Regions from separate parts of the Homo sapiens genome. Here region 2 is linked to region 1. The links are contacts of gene promoters, found by promoter capture Hi-C in human tissues and cell types (Jung and others, 2019). All regions are on one chromosome and are shown on one strand. The core of a region is centred on a gene start or on the middle of the fragment in contact, and the rest is flanking DNA. Distances in the headings are between cores, read along the strand shown.

The links. Contacts are between HindIII fragments. The study calls those that stand out against the background at their distance.
Region 2: a contact is called between a fragment that was not itself captured here and the fragment with the promoter of OAZ1 in region 1, in 1 of the 25 tissues and cell types used here (adrenal gland).

What each region holds. Positions count from the first base shown.
Region 1 is chr19:2,267,654-2,270,973 of GRCh38, reverse strand. It overlaps OAZ1 (ornithine decarboxylase antizyme 1), which reads right to left and starts at 1,488. Exons shown (of 5, transcript NM_004152.3): 1 at 1,230-1,488. The coding sequence starts at 1,375. LOC105372240 (a long non-coding RNA gene) reads left to right here and starts at 1,721. Exons shown (of 2, transcript XR_936242.3): 1 at 1,721-1,872; 2 at 2,102-2,481. RefSeq lists silencers at 1-196, 407-466, 1,432-1,921 and an enhancer at 1,175-1,789. The HindIII fragment of the contact is 6,913 bases long and covers 236-3,320 here.
Region 2 is chr19:2,204,958-2,208,279 of GRCh38, reverse strand. It overlaps DOT1L (DOT1 like histone lysine methyltransferase), which reads right to left. Exons shown (of 28, transcript NM_032482.3): 10 at 1,483-1,551; 11 at 600-706. Among named protein-coding and RNA genes, the nearest start is that of DOT1L-AS1, 8.9 kb to the left of the region's middle. The HindIII fragment of the contact is 7,781 bases long and covers 1-3,322 here.

The sequences.
Region 1 (3,320 bases), core at 239-2,738:
CGCGAAGACCGGGCGGGCCTAGCCTGACCTCATGGAGGACGCGCCCCGCTCCGGCTCCCGGCCGCCCGCCCCCCCGCCCCCGCTCCAGGCCCGGGCCCTCCCGGTTGCGTCATCCAGGCAGACGCGGCCTCGCGCCCCGGGGGAGATTTTCACAATCGCGCAGCCGGCAGCGCCAGCAGCCATTTGCTGCGCAGGGTAAACAGGCCCCAAAGTTGCCTCCATTTTGCACGGCCCCCAAACCGCGGCACCGCCAGCACCGCGGCCCAACCTCCCGATCCGGGGCTGAGCGACGCCCACCTCGGGGGACGCAGTCGGGAAAGCTCGACCGAGACCCCGCGGGCTCCCCCACAACCGCAGCTGGCACCCGCGCCCCCGGAAGCGGGACGCGTCTTCCCGGGAAGCGGCGGGGGTCTTCCCAGGGCGCTGCCGGGCTGTCGGAGTGCGCCACCCCCAGCTCCCCGGCGGCCCCCGCGGAGAAGCCCTGGGTGCCGTCTACGTGCGCGGCCTCGCCCGGCGCGTCCCGGGCCATCCAGACCGACTCGCTCAGGGGCGAAAAACGGGGCCCACGAGGTCCGTCGCGTGCAGGGGCCACATCGAGGCAACAGGGACCCGCGGGAGCTCGTCCACCGCAAAGCGCTCCCCGCTCCCGCAGCGCACGCTCGACGGCCGGGACCGAAAAGTGCAGATTCACCAGCCCCGCGGGCCCTGCCTGTCCGCGGACCAGCCCCCCAAGGCCGACCCCGCCCCCAACCAGATTGCCCCATCCTGCGCCTCCCAAATCCGACCCGACCGCACACCCTTCCTCCAAACCGAATTCCCAGTCTGCGCCCCGCAAATCCAACCCTCGACCAGAAGCCTCTCCCCTCCTCCGAAGCCGAGTCCCATCCCGCGAACCCCGCAAAAGACACACGCCTCCCCCGACTCCCCGTCCTGCGCCCAAATCCGACCTCCGACCCATGCCCCTCCCGCAAATCAGGCGCCCCGGACGGTGCCCCCCAAATCCAACTCCGCACCCTTGCCCCCCAAACCCGACTCCCCCGAGAGCACTGCTAAGGCCGGGGGGGACCTCCAGGCCCGCCCTGCGCCTACCTCGTCCCCGGCGCGATTCTGGCCTTGACAAAGGGGCGGATCTCGCGCGCCGGGGACCTATCTGGCGCCCCGAGGACGGCCCCCCGCAGGCCTGCGCGGCCGGCGCTTCTGGAAGCTTCGGACGGGGGCGGGGCACTTACCTCTCACTGCTGCTGCCGCCGCGGCTGTGCAGGCTTAGGAGCGGCATGGTGCGGCTGGCGTGGATGGTGGCGCTGGGTTTATCCCCTTCCTTCTCTCTGGCGAAGCAGTGGCTATTGAGGATCCGCTGCAGGGAGGATTTCACCATCCGGCCGCTGGGGTCCGAAACCAGGAAAACCTCCGCTGCGTCTCTCCGCGCCGCCGCCGCTGCTCGCCGTTCGCAAAATGGCGCCTCTGCCGCCGCCCGCCTTTATAGATGCTGCGCCCAGGCCACGCCCCCCGCGCCGCCGGGAACGCGACCGCACGAGGGGCAGAGCCGCGGGGCCGCCGGGAAAAAAAGTCGCGCCCGCCCCTCCCAGCGCCTGATTGGTGAAAGGGAAAGGGAAAGGAAGAGGCTCTCTGGAGATTGGTTGGTGAGCCTCGGGCCACGCCCCCTCCTGCGCGCGTCCTTCTGGGGGCGGGGCTGCCGTGGCGCCGGGTACGCGCTGCGCGCGCCCCGAGCCGTCCCCGCCCCCACAATCGTGCCTTGGGGGCGGGGGCGGCTCGCTGGGGCCGATTTTCGGGGGTCTTCGAGTGCCCGTTTGTCTGTCGTGGTCCACGTCGCCCTCCCTAGGGTCCCTTCACGCAGCGGGACCCCTCCCCTGGGTAGGCCCCCGGGTGCTTGGGGGGTTGTCCAACCGCGCCAGAATTATTTCCAGTAACACCTGGTAATCATCGATGATATTACTGGTTTTATTTTTTTAAATTTGGTCTTGCAGTTCTTAAAATGCTTCCAGTGTTTAAAAAAAAAGAACTTCCAATGTTAAAGATATTCAAATTTAGTAAAATATTTCGTGTACAATTTGGACTTAAGCAAAAATTTTACTCCTTGCAGATAAATTCAGATTTTTCCTGTGGAAACTGAAACTTACCCTAAGGAAAAACACTACTCCTGGCAGTTAAAATTCAGAAACACATCTCATGTATGAACTAAAATGTGGATCTCCCAAGGAAAAAACGATTTCTTTGGTGGTCAAGTTCGGTAAACTGTTTCGCCTGTGAGGTAAAATGTGGACTTACCTAGCAAAAATATTTCCCCTCCTGGTTAAATCCAGAAAAAAAATCTCAGGTATGAACTGCACTTTGCTTTTAATAAGCAAAGATATAACTCTTGGCAGTCACATACGGGTACATAGCTTGTGTGTAGACTAAATTATGAATTTAGCAAAAAGTTGCCACTTTGCAGTGAGGTTTAATAAAATATTTTTTATTTCATGTATAAACAAAATTTTGTTCTTACCAAGCAAAAATGCTACTCCTGGCAAATCCTGATTCCTTTCATGGTTTTAATTTTGTTTTGTTTGCGACCGGGCCTGGCTGTCACCCAGGCTGGAGTGCAGTGGCGCAATCTCGGCTCGCTGCAACCTCCGCCTCCCAGGTTCAAGCGATTCTCCTGCTTCAGCCTCCTGAGGAGCTGGGATTACAGGTGCCCGCCACCACGCCCGGCTAATTTTTGTATTTTTAGTAGAGATGGGGTTTCACCATGTTGGCAAGGCTGGTCTGGAACTCCTGACCTCAGGTGATCCGCCTGCCTCGACCTCCCAAAGTTTGGGGATTAACAGGCGTGAGCCACCGCGCCTGCCTGTCTTTCGAGATTTCGTACTGCACCAGAAGGCTGTTGTTGCATCTCTGCTACGAGCATTCGCTATTCAGGTGTTGAGGCAGAAATTAACTCCTGCGGTTGACATTTGGGGCCGCCCTGGGCACTGCAGGGCGCTGAGCAGCGTCCCTGGCCTCCACCCACTCCATGCCTTGAGCACCCCCAGTTGTGACAACCACAAGTATCCGCAGACATCACCCAGTGTCCCTTGGCGGGGGCAGAATCACCCTGGGTGAGACTCCCGAGTTAGGGGATTCCACGGACCCCCCCAAGAGACTCTGCATCCCATGATCCTCTGCCCTGCTGAGGTCCCAGGAGACTGCGCACGTTGAAATCCACACCTTGAGGCAGAGGTTGCAGTGAGCTGAGATGGCGCCGCTGCACTCCAGCCTGGTGACAGAGCGAGACTCTGTCACAAAAAAAACAAAAAAAAAGCAATCCACACCCTGAGTGG
Region 2 (3,322 bases), core at 600-3,099, 63 kb after region 1:
GGACGGGAAAGAGACCAGGGGAAGCCTCCCAGCCCTGGAGGGCTGGCGCTGCCCACATGCCAGGAGGCTCGGGATACTCGTGCCCGGGGGGGAAGCACCGTGGGAGGCAGGCAGGCCGCACACTGGCCCAGGGCTGTGTCAGAGGACCCTGGGGAACACAGGGAGGGAAGAAGCATCCCAGACCCCACCCATGGACCCTGGTGTCTCCCCGCTCAGGACCCTCTCACATGGAGGAAGCTGGGAACAGGGACGTGGGACTCCTATCCACAGGGGCCTCTGGATATGGCGGCCGGGACCCTTATGGTCACACATCACTCTGATGGCCCCGCCCCACCCCAGGAGCTGAGCGTAGACTAGGGGAGACAGCACTCAGCCCTCACCCAGGACACGCCCAGTGCCTGGGAGGACCCTGGTGGGTCCTGCGGTGCAAGCAGTACTGAGGGGCCTTGAGGAGCTGGGCCTGAGCTCAGGGGCCGGGGGGCGTTGAGGGCTCTGAGGGGAGGGTCTCAGAGGCCACATGAGAAAGGAGAGAGCAGTGTGACGTGGGCGGGGTGGAAGACCAGGACGGCCCTGCGGCTGAGGCGCAGCGAGATACTCACTATGGTGCGGTCGATAGTGTGCAGGTAGTAGGAGACTGGCTTCCCCGTCCACGACACCGAGCCCTTCAGGGGCGAGAGCTCCACCACGCGCATGATGGTGCCGATGTCTGCAGGAGCCACAGGTGAGGCCGGGGCCTGCGCCTGCCCACAGCCCCTCCATGCAGACCTCACCCACCCCAGGGCAGGCGTGGGGACAGAAGCCTGAGCTGCGCGTCTTCCCTCTTCTCCCACACTGCGTCAGGCCACAGTGGCCCACAGAGGCCGGCCCAGGGAGGTGCACCATTCAACACCACCTGGCCTGGGCCCCTCCAACCTCAGAAAAACAGCCACAAACCCAGCTGAGTGGAATGGAAAAGGAGGGGGAGAAGATCTGGAAGCGACTTAGATCACGGCTGCAAGAACGGCCAGCATCCAGCAACACAGGCACCTCCCGGGTGGGCGCTCCTCAGGGAAGCCCCTCAGAGGAGGCCGTGCTGCCCCGCAAGGCTGGGAGCTGACAGAGCACGCAGCACAGTAAGGCAGGCAGGGGGCATGGGAGGGGCCGGCTCCTTCCCACCGTGGGCCTGTCTCTGTCCACAAAAGTCCTGTAAATCCTTCACGCCTCCCCTCGAAGCCGGGGTCTCCCCGAGGAGTGATTCTACCCCCATGGCACACAGTGCTCTATGGGGACGTGTGTGGTTGTCGCGACCAGGGGTGCTCCTGGCATGGAGTGGGTGGACACCAGGGACGCTGCTCAGCACCCTGCACTGCCCAGGACAGCCCCACCCCACAGAAGGATCCAGCCCCAGTGTCCACAGGGTCAAGGAAGAGGGACCTAGGAATACTGCGTGTCAGATGGTTAAAATTACCCGTGTTCATCATTAACAACATGAGAGTTTCTTACCACTCAAGTTTCTACTGTTTATTCTGAAGTTCAGAGGTGCAAAGGGTTTCGAGGACACGATTCTGCCACCTGAAACACAGACACTGCTTACTGCCACACAGGAGAGAGGAAACAGAAGAGCAGACACCACTCAAGGTGACAGAGAAGGAACAATGACACGGAACACACACACACTGGGCTCCGGGTCCTGTCCACCTGCCTACAAGCAACACTAGGAAACACCTTCCAAGTTGAAGCCTATTCTACAAATAACTTTTTTTTTTTTTTTTTTTTTTTGAGACAGAGTCTCCCGGCTCACTGCAACCTCCACCTCCCTGGTTCAAGCGGTTCTCCTGCCTCAGCCTTGCGAGTAGCTGTGATTACAGGCGCACACCACCACACCTGGCTAATTTTTGGATTTTTAGTAGAGAGCGGGTTTCACCCTGCTGGCCAGGCTTGTCTGGAACTCCTGGCCTCAAGTGAGCCACCACGCCCAACCTCCTACAAATAATGCTTCTTTAAAAAACATTCTCGGCGCGGTGCAGTGGCTCATGCCTGTAATCCCAGCACTTTGGGAGGCTGAGGCAGGTGGATCACCCGAGGCCAGCCTGGCTAACAGGGTAAAACCGTGTCTCTACTAAAAAAATACAAAAACTAGCCAGGTGTGGTGGCGCACATCTGTAATCCCAGCTACTCGGGAGGCTGAGGCAGGAGAATCACTTGAACCTGGGAGGTGGAAGCTGCAAGTGAGTCGAGATCGCGCCACTGCACTCCAGCCTGGGCGATAGAGAGAGACTCTGCCTCAAAAGAAAAAAAAAACCCACTACGCTGCCAGGCGCACAGGCTCACGCCTGTAAACCCAGCATTATGGGAGGCCAAGGCGGGCAGACTGCCAGAAGTTCCAGCCCAGCCTGGGACACAGGGAGACCCCATCTCTACAAAAAATTAAAATAAAAAATTAGCTGGGCATGATGGTGCATGCCTGTGATCCCAGCTACTCGGGAGGCTGGGGCAGGAGGATCACTTGAGCCCAGGAGGTCAAGGCTGCAGGGAGCTATGATCACACCAGTGCACTCCAGCCTGGGCCAAGGATGAAGACCCTGTCTCAAAAAAAAACAAAACAAAAAACTAAGGTTTGAGAGGCAGGAAGAGCAAACCCCCAAGCCGTACACAAGCAGGAACAAAATCTAACTGTAGATGCAAACTGGAAACAGTCATGCGAAAAGAATTATTTCAAATACCTCTGAACCCTGGGATTCTAACTGACTGTCAGTGATAAATGCAAAGACAAACAGACCGGATGGACACCTTCAGCCTCAGTCTGACCAACACAGTGAAACCCCGTCTCTACTAAAAATACAAAAAAGTCAGCCAGGCACCTGCAAGGCTGCTGCTAAGCGTCAGTCTCACTATCACCAGCCACTATGGGGCATCTTGTGTGTGCTGCAGGAAGAACTTGGTGTCAGGAGCCGAACTTCGCAGGACCGAGAGAAACAGAGCCTTCTGTTTTTACACATATAAAGAAGGTAATCATAAAAGTCAAAATGTGGGCCAGGTGCGGTGGCTCATGCCTGTAACCCAGCACTTTGGGAGGCCGAGGCAGGGAGATCACGAGGTCAGGAGATCGAGACCATCCTGGCTAACACAGTGAAACCCTGTCTCTACTAAAAATACAAAAAAATTAGCCAGGTGTGGTGGCGGGCGCCTGTAGTCCCAGCTACTCGGGAGGCTGAGGCGGGAGAATGGCGTGAACCTGGGAGGCGGAGCTTGCAGTGACCAGAAACTGCGCCACTGCACTCCAGCCTGGGCGACAGAGTGAGACTCCGTCTCCAAAAAAAAAAAAATTAAAAGTCAAAGTGGA